Linked DNA regions of Homo sapiens: region 1 is linked to region 2. Evidence: promoter capture Hi-C in 16 types of primary human blood cells and fetal thymus (Javierre and others, 2016). All regions are on one chromosome and are shown on one strand. The core of a region is centred on a gene start or on the middle of the fragment in contact, and the rest is flanking DNA. Distances in the headings are between cores, read along the strand shown.

What was found. The method cuts DNA at HindIII sites, captures the fragments that hold promoters and counts their contacts. A CHiCAGO score of 5 or more calls a contact.
Region 1: a contact is called between the fragment with the promoter of CDK7 here and a fragment that was not itself captured in region 2, in 2 of 17 cell types (neutrophils and erythroblasts). The highest score is 7.0, in neutrophils.

What each region holds. Positions count from the first base shown.
Region 1 is chr5:69,232,470-69,236,801 of GRCh38, reverse strand. CDK7 (cyclin dependent kinase 7) reads right to left here and starts at 1,916. Exons shown (of 12, transcript NM_001799.4): 1 at 1,761-1,916; 2 at 1,349-1,408. The coding sequence starts at 1,826. RefSeq lists an enhancer at 1,666-2,194. The HindIII fragment of the contact is 18,686 bases long and covers 1-2,487 here.
Region 2 is chr5:69,492,187-69,496,515 of GRCh38, reverse strand. It overlaps OCLN (occludin), which reads right to left and starts at 3,726. Exons shown (of 9, transcript NM_001205254.2): 1 at 3,616-3,726. The HindIII fragment of the contact is 3,979 bases long and covers 1-3,375 here.

The DNA of each region.
Region 1 (4,332 bases), core at 667-3,166, 260 kb after region 2:
CAGGTTCCTGTAGTCCCAGCTACTGGAGAGGCTGAGACAGGAGAAGTGCTTGAACCCGGGAGGCAGAGGTTCCAGTGAGCCGAAATCGCACAATTGCACTCCAGCCTGGGCAACAAGCAAAATTCTGTCTCAAAAAAAATAAAAAATAAAATAAAATAAAAAATAAAAAAATTATGGCAGGAATAATTGAGAAGAAGTAGTCAGTCAGGTTTTAAATGAATGCAAGACAGTACTTGGAGGCTGGAAGATGACCAAAAAAAGGGGGAATTAATGTTAAATATGGATAACTTCCAAGGAGTTAGGGTTTTTGAAGCAGGAGAAGCAGATTCAAAGTAGCAACGGTAACAAAAGCAACATCAGGACACCTGGATTTAAATCCCAGCTTCAGCAATCACTAGCTGTGTGATCTTGACAAGTCACCTAGTCACTCAGTCTCAGGTACCTCAAGTATAAAATAGGGTTACTTTTAACCACTTTATAGATTGTTTTGAAGGTTAAAAGAAACAATGTAGGTGAACGTGAGTTATGTAATTATGACCCAAATCTTTTTTTTTTTTTTTTTAAGATGGAGTCTCCCTCTGTCACCAGGCTGGAGCACAGTGGCACCATCTCGGCTCATTACAACCTCCACCTCCCAGGTTCAAGTGATTCTCCTGCCTCAGCCTCCCGAGTAGCTGGGATTACAGACAGGTGCCACCACACCCAGCTAATATTTGTATTTTTAGTAGAGACAGGGTTTCACCATGTTGGCCAGGATGGTCTGGATCTCTTGACCCCAAGTGATCCGCCCACCTCGGCCTCCCAAAGTGCTGGGATTACAGGCGTGAGCCACCGCGGCTGGCCCGACCCAAGTCTTTTGAATGAATATAAGAAGCTACTGAATCCGACCCAGGTCTTTTGAATGAATATAAGAAGCTACTGAACTCATTTTAGACCTCACATCAATGTTGTTCATGCTAGTGAAAGTCTTTCATGGTAAATCCGTACACAGAAAATACAGATACGACACACTGAGTGGATGCAGGTGAGGTATAAACAGTGACCTAGAAAGATCATGGTATCCAATAGTTCTGAGGACCGAAAAGATGGGCAGTACTTGCCCACAACATATGAATTTATGCAGTAAAAATAACATACAGCTTCTTCTTCATTTCAATAGAAATTAAAACGGGTTCAACCCTAGAGTTCCGTTTGGGAACACAAAGCACTAATTAATTATTTTGTCTCTGAAAATGACATGAGTAACTCATTATCAGAGTATGGTCAAGACTAATAAAATGGCTATCAGTCAATTAATAATACAGACATCTTCAAGGAGACTTAAAAACAACATAAAAAGGTAACTCACTTTCTTAATGGCGACAATTTGGTTGGTGTTCTTATCTCTGGCCTTGTAAACGGTGGCAAACTAGAAAGAAAAATAGAAATAACATAAGTTTATGGGAGTTTTTGTGTTTGCCTTTTTGCATTTTTACATTTCGCGAAGCAAAGAGCCCAGAGTTCCTGAGCAGACTCGCGGCGGCTGGAAACGTGGCGGGTCAGTCTCCGTCCAGCTCCAGGCTACTCTTCAGCAAGGAGAGGCCCCTCAGGGATTCACCCCCAGGATGTAAAGAATGGGCAGCAAGTGCGTCTGGACGGTTTCCCCCAACGAGAACGAGCAGCCAAGCCAGACCTCTGGCCTCCACGGGAAAACCCGCAAAGGTGGAGGCGGCGCGGGGCTGTCCGCTTGGGGCCCTCCCCGTCCTTCCAGAGAGCCTCACCTGTCCCTCCCCAAGGAAGTCCAGCTTCTCATAACGCTTTGCCCGAGACTTCACGTCCAGAGCCATCCGGCGCCGTAAAGCCCGACTCCAGCCGAAAAGGGCGAGCTCCCAGGACAACACGAATTTAAAGCTACCTTAAAGCCTCCAACACCCACTTCCGTCCACCGGGCTCCGTCGCTTTAGTATCCCCGCCTCACTTCCGTGGTGGGCGGAGGAAGCTGCGCTAGGCCCAGGCGGTTGGCGTTCCCCACCCGTCACGTGACGCCTGTCGGTGCCTGAAGTGGGGCATCTTCAATGGCTGCTGTGTCACTCTGTTGCCGTTTTAACTTGGGTGTTTTCTACATTACCAGGAACTGGTCAGCGTTCTAATTTGGTGTTCCATGTTCGGGGTTTGGTAGGTGTCTGTGAATGTAGAAAGTTTGGCCTTGTACCTGTTCTCGCTTTTTGGTTCTTGCTCGAGCGCGTCCTGTCGCCGTGGTTGCTATGGACGCCAAACCCTGCTATCTCAGATTACTGAGACGAGTGCCAAGTTCTTACGGGCTGGTCAAGAGTATTCTTAGTCCAGTCCCTTTATGAAGAAGCAGGCCCAGGAAAACAAAATCCAACTCAACTGAAACGTGCTGTGGGAATCAGCTTCTAGTCCTCAGTTTTCTACTCGGTAAAATGGAAAAAATAATGAACTACATCACAGGAGATTGTGGGTATTAAATGAAACATGCAGAAAGCTTAGACATTAACTCAATTAATTGAGACAGTGCTCAATTAACTTAGCAGTAATGAGTACCCAACCCCTTGATTATCATAAATTGTCATAACAAACACACTAATTCATTTATTCAAAAACATATTGAGTGCTTTTCCTTTTTCATTTTTCTCTCTCTTAGGATGCTGATATTGAGTGTTATCTATGTGCCAAGCACCATTGTAGAATCTGAGATAGCAGGGAGCAAAGATCCCTGCCTTCCAATGGGAGGAGATAAAAAAACAAGTCAAATATGTGTTATGATACATAGGTGATAAGTGCTATAGAGATAATAAAGCAGATAAAGGATAACAAATCAGGGCAGGGGCAGGGATGGAGGTTTTAAATAGGGTGGTACAAGAAAGTCATCACTGAAAACCCACTGGAGGGATTGGAGCAGACAAGTGATATGACCTGACTCACTTTTAAAAGGTTCACTCTTGCTGTTGGGAGACTATATTATAGATTTTGAGGGACAAGAAAAAGAAAGAAGGCCTATTAGAGAACTATTGCAGTAATCCAGATGGCTCTACTAGTGGATAATTAAAAGTTTCTGAGCCAGAGCAGCTGTCAACATGGAAATGTGCCCCCCTCCCCCTGCCTTTGTTTGTTTGTTTGTTTTTGAGACAGTCTCACTCTGTTGCTCAGGCTGGAGTACGCTGGCCCGATCTGAGCTCACTGCAACCTCTGCCTCCTGGGTTCAAGCGATTCTCCTGCCTCAGCTTCCCGATTAGCTGGGATTACTGGCCTGCTCCACCACACCCAGCTAATTTTTGTATTTTTAGTAGAGACGGGGTTTCACCTTGTTGGCCAGGCTGGTCTCAATCTCCTGACCTCAGGTGATCCACCCTCCTCGGCCTCCCAAAGTGCTGGTATTTGTAAGTGTAAGCCACTGCGCCCAGCCTATATTTGTTATTTCTAAGAGTTGAAAATCCTAAGTTTCAGAGATATGTTGAAGAAAGTAGCAAAATACCAAGGCCAATAATTTAGTTATTTTTTTTAACTCTGGAATCAGACTGCTTGCATTTGAATAGTGGCCCTATCAGTATTCAGCCACTAGATACAACTAGGGCAAATTACTTACTTTGTTTCCAGTTTCTTCATCCCTAATAGGATCTACTCAAAGGATTGTTCCAAGGCTTAAATGACCTCACACCTGCAAAGCCCTTAGAATAATGTTTGACAGTTAAGTGTTTACTATATGTTAGCCATTATCTTTCAGTCCCTTGTCATTACTTGGGTCTAGGCAAAACTCACACATTGCAGAAAAGACACCATCTCTCTTGAGGCAAGTCATACCTAGTGATGCTGTTGTCATAGTTTCTTCTGACAGGTATCATTGAAATAATAATTTAACCTCACTTGTAGAAATAAGCTAGTGAGCGGCAGGTGCAGTGGCTCACACCTGTAATCCAGCACTTTGGGATGCCGAGGCAGGTGGATCACCTTAAGTCAGGAGTTCCAAACCAGCCTGGCCAACATGGTGAAACCCCATCTCCACTAAAAATACAAAAATTAGTTGGGTGTGGTGGCAGGCACCTGTAATCCCAGCTACTAGGGAGGCTGAGGCAGAAGAATCACTTGAACCCGCGAGGCGGAGGTTGCAGTGAGCAGAGATAGCACCATTGGACTCCAGCCTGGGCAACAAGAGTGAAAACTCCGTCAAAAGAAAGAAAGAAGGGAAGAAAGGAAGAAAAGAGAGAGAGAGAAGCTAGTGAGCTAAATCTGATGATGCCGTTGTGAGACTTGAGGTCCCCAAGTGTGCCATGGCGTATGAGTTGATAATCAGTGTATTACAGCGTGCTGCTGACAAGTAAATTCCCATTCTGG
Region 2 (4,329 bases), core at 137-2,636:
ATTCTTTAAAGAAAACTGTCAATAAGTGAAAAATAAACTTTATTGTATTTAAGAGAAGTCTGTTCCTTTTAGAGCACATGCAGTAACTGTCAATTTGCCTTTAAAAAGTTTAAGTTGTGGCCGGGCGCGGTGGCTCACGCCTGTAATCCCAGCACTTTGGGGGGCCGAGACGGGAGGATCACGAGGTCAGGAGATCGAGACCATCCCCGCTAACACAGTGAAACCCCGCCTCTATTAAAAATACAAAAAATTAGCTGGGCATGGTGGCAGGCGCCTGTAGTCCCAACTACTCGGGAGGCCGAGGCAGGAGAATGGTGTGAACCCGGGAGGCGGAGCTTGCAGTAAGCCAAGATCGTGCCACTGCACTCCAGCCTGGGAGACAGCGAGACTCTGTCTCAAAAAAAAAAAAAAAAGTTTAAGTTGTGCCTTATATTAAATGATTTAGACTACAGGCACATCATTAGTAAATTGTCTAAAAATTTGAAGTTAGGCAGATTTTGTAATAGACTCTGTGTCAGAAATTGTATTTTTAATAAATCTTCCAGGTGATTTTTAAACACATCACATATTTTGAGAATTGCTGTCTACAATAAAGGTGTCAATCCAAAAAGGACATTGATCTTGCAATTTCCTGTCTAGAAAGCCCAGATCTTTTACACAACAGACACCTGCTGTTCAGGTCTCAGCTCAGACGTCACCTTCTGGGAGATGCCCTCCCTGTCCCTCACTCCATCACACAAAACTTGTTTTTTTTTTCAGAGCAAACTCCCCTCTGCCCTCATACCTAAAATATAGGTATCATCTCCACCGCATCTGGAATGCCCATATCCCAGACATCAAATGTCTATTTTGACCATCATTTATATCCCTGGTCGCTGGAACTAGCCCTGGCACAAAGTGATTGTCAATGAGTACTCAATTAATAAAACCAACAGTCAATTATTAGAGTTGGGATTTCAATCCAGCAGTGAATGCCTTGAAGTTCTTCACACAACACTCAATAAACGTTATTTTTTCCAACTTCAGTTTGTCAAATGTAATTAAGTGCGTAGAGTCTAAGAGAAAGGGAGAAAAAGAAGACAGAACAGTCTGAGAATCACCTGTGAGCCTGTTAGAAAGGCAGAATCCCAGGCCCCACTCCTGACCTCCCAATCAGAATCTGTGTTTTAATAGGATCCCTAAGTGATTCATACCACAGCCAAGACTGGAATCACTGGGTTACGGAACAGCGGCAAGCCTAGGGGTTAAAACAAAAAGCCTAACATAAATCTGCATGGTCTGTTTACTCTCTTATTTCCATAAATAGTAATTTGATGAAAAAGATCCATTAATATTCCAATCAAATAAGCCTTAAAATGCAACTGAAGAAAACTTCCTTCTGGGAGGTTCCTAGGAAGATGAAAGATATTACATCAGATCATTTATGTGGTTAAAAGTAATATACTATTTTGAAAAGGTAGTAATTCCAACACTACCTTTAGAAGAAAACAAGAATTTTACCTTGATATCAAGCAAAATGCGGGAAATCTTGTATCAGGCTACAGTTACTAGTCAATGGTAGAAAAGTCCAGAAAAATTCCCCAAATCTGGTTCTGGAATATCAAGGACCGCTGCTTCTGATACTCCTTCCCATATTAGCTGAAGCAGTTTGCAAGCAAGCCCACCTGCAACGTTTCCCCCACGGCATTTGCCCACTTTTAAAATGGAGTTCTACTAAGGCCTGCCTTTTAGAGTTGTTGGGATAATTAAATGAGAAAATACAGAATGCTTTTACCACAGTGCCTCACGTGCAGGAGGCACTGCTGCCCACTATTTCCCGAAATGGCCTGGAAACTGCCAAAAGGTGGAGAATCATGTCTTACCGATCTCCCTATCCTCTGCTCCGTCACCTAACAAAGGAGGCCCCTAATAACTAAATAAATTGCAAAACGACCAAAAAAAAAGTGTTGCTTTGTTTGAGGAAATATCTCTGCCTCCCACACACACTTAAGATGTCTATTTTAAAGCACCACTAAGAAAATATTCATAAAGGCTGGGTGTGGTGGCTTACGCCTGTAATCCCAGCACTTTGGGAGGCCAAGGCGGGCGAATCACCTGAGGTCAGGAGTTCGAGACCAGCCTGACCAAATGGCAAAACCCTGTCTCTACTAAAAATACAAAAATTAGCTGTGCATACTAGTGGGTGCCTGTAATCCCAGCTATTCGGGAGGCTGAGCAGGAGAATCGCTTGAACCCGGGAGGCAGAGGTTGCAGTGAGCCCAGATGATGCCACTGCACTGGGGGACAGAGCCAGACTCCGTCTCGGAAAAACACACACACACACACACACAAGCACCTCATATGTACAGTGCAAAAGAACTACTGTTACTATTGTTACACTTGGGAACGCCTAGTTTTCTATCACACCAAGAATCACCAAAAAACACCATAAGTGCCTTCATGGGAAACGTTTCTCTTTTCCAGGTATCCCAATAATACACCTGTTGCCTAAGGGCCACACACTGACTGGCCTGGAAAGCCGCCGCCTCCTCCTCGAGCAGGGTAATTCCCCAAGCGGGCAGTGTGGCCAGCGAGCCCCGGGTCCGGCCTAAGGATGCCGCGGCTTTTCCCTCGGGCCCGGTGGCTTCCCGAGGAGCGCGAGGGGCTCGGCGCCGCTCCCAACCCCTAGGCGCAGAGGCCATCTTGGCCCTCGACCCCTGCTCCCCGCACGCTTCCTCCGACGCAGGCAACATGGCTGGCGCGCGGGGCCGGCCCAGTCCCGGAGGTCCCCAAACTCCGTGGCCCGGCTGGGCGCGGGTCCCGGCTTCCGTGCGCACCGAGGCGCTCCCAGGCAGCGCGCGCCCACGTTCGCCGGGCAGGCACCGCCCGGAGGCAGTTCCGCCCCCCTGGGGGCAGCCCTTTTGGTCACGGATGAGAATCCGAAGCGTGAGCAGCTTCCCTCGAAGTCCAGCCTCACTCGAAATTAACTCCCCGCCCCCCAGCTTAAATCGACGCGGGTTCACACAACTCGCAACAAGTGGATTCGAAGTAGCCAGTGTGGCCCACACCGTGACTCCTGGAATATTTCACAGATTGAATCCAGCCCCCGTCTCCCCGGGATATCCAAAGGGGTGGGGTGGGAGCGGAAGGAATGAAATTCCCCCCGGGATCTAAGCCGCCCGGGCCGCCGAACAGCCGCCTCGCTGCAGCCTCAGGCTTAGGACCCCCAAGGAGCTGGGCGCAGGATCCCTCTCCATGAAGGCCGCCCCCCCAAACTGCAGCCCCAGAGCGGATGCAGGATCGTCGCTGTTCAGGAATGTCGTGCCCCATAAAAGTGAAAAGTTGCCCGCGCCGCTGAGGCACTGCTAGCTTTCAGCGTTTCCGCGGAATAAAGCTTGATCGGCGGCTCCAAGCCACCCCTCGCCCCAGGAGGCAGCCTCCCAAGTTGGCCGGTGCTGCTCTCTCCGCAGACCCGCGCCTCTCTGGTTCCCACGAGTCCCAGCTCGGGGACGAAACTGCCACCGAAACCAGCGCGGAGCGTCCTCCCCCCGGCACCTCCCCTAACATAGTCGCCGCGGTCCCCCCACGGGGACCCTCGGGCTCCCGTGCGCCCCTGACGCCGCGCCCAACACTCACCCGCTCGCCGCAACTGGGCCCGACCCTCCGGGGGCCAACGGTGCCAGGGAGCGCGCTCACCTGGCGGGCGCACCTGACGCCGCACCGACCGCCAGCGCTCAGCCGGGGACTGGGCTGGGGACGTCTCCTCCCCCTTCTCCCTCTCCTTTCCCTCCTCCCTACAACCGGCCCTGCCCCCGGGCATGCGCACCAACGTGGAAGGGGGTGCGGGAAGCCTGCGGGCCAGCGCCGCGAGTCCCACCTGCTGCGTCCTAGACCGGCTCCTCGGCGCTCTGGACCTGGCTCTCGGTTCCTGCCGCCTCCGCCAGAGGAAGCAGGGAGGGAGAGGTGGACGCGGGAGTGTAGGTGTGGTGTGTCGGCCTCCTCCCTCGGTGACCAATTCACCTGAAACTCGGATGGGAGGGGGCGGGAGGACGCGGTCCTGCTTCCCACACCCTGCCAGCGCGCTGTTAAAGGAACCGCGCGACGTTGCGGCCCGAGAGGCGGGGCGCAGAGGAGAGGCGCGGGCTCCTAGGGGGCAGCACGGATGGGGGTCCCTGACCACCCCGGGGTGCGTTCGGTGCTCCGCCTGCTTCGGATGGAACCTTGGGGTGTCTGATGGAGAGAGGCCGAACGAGGTCCAGAGGGGACTGTTTCCTCCGGAAAGAGGGTCCAGGCACTCAGCACTTTGATAGGAAAGGCACGTCCTCACAGGACACTTTTCTGCTTCCAGAA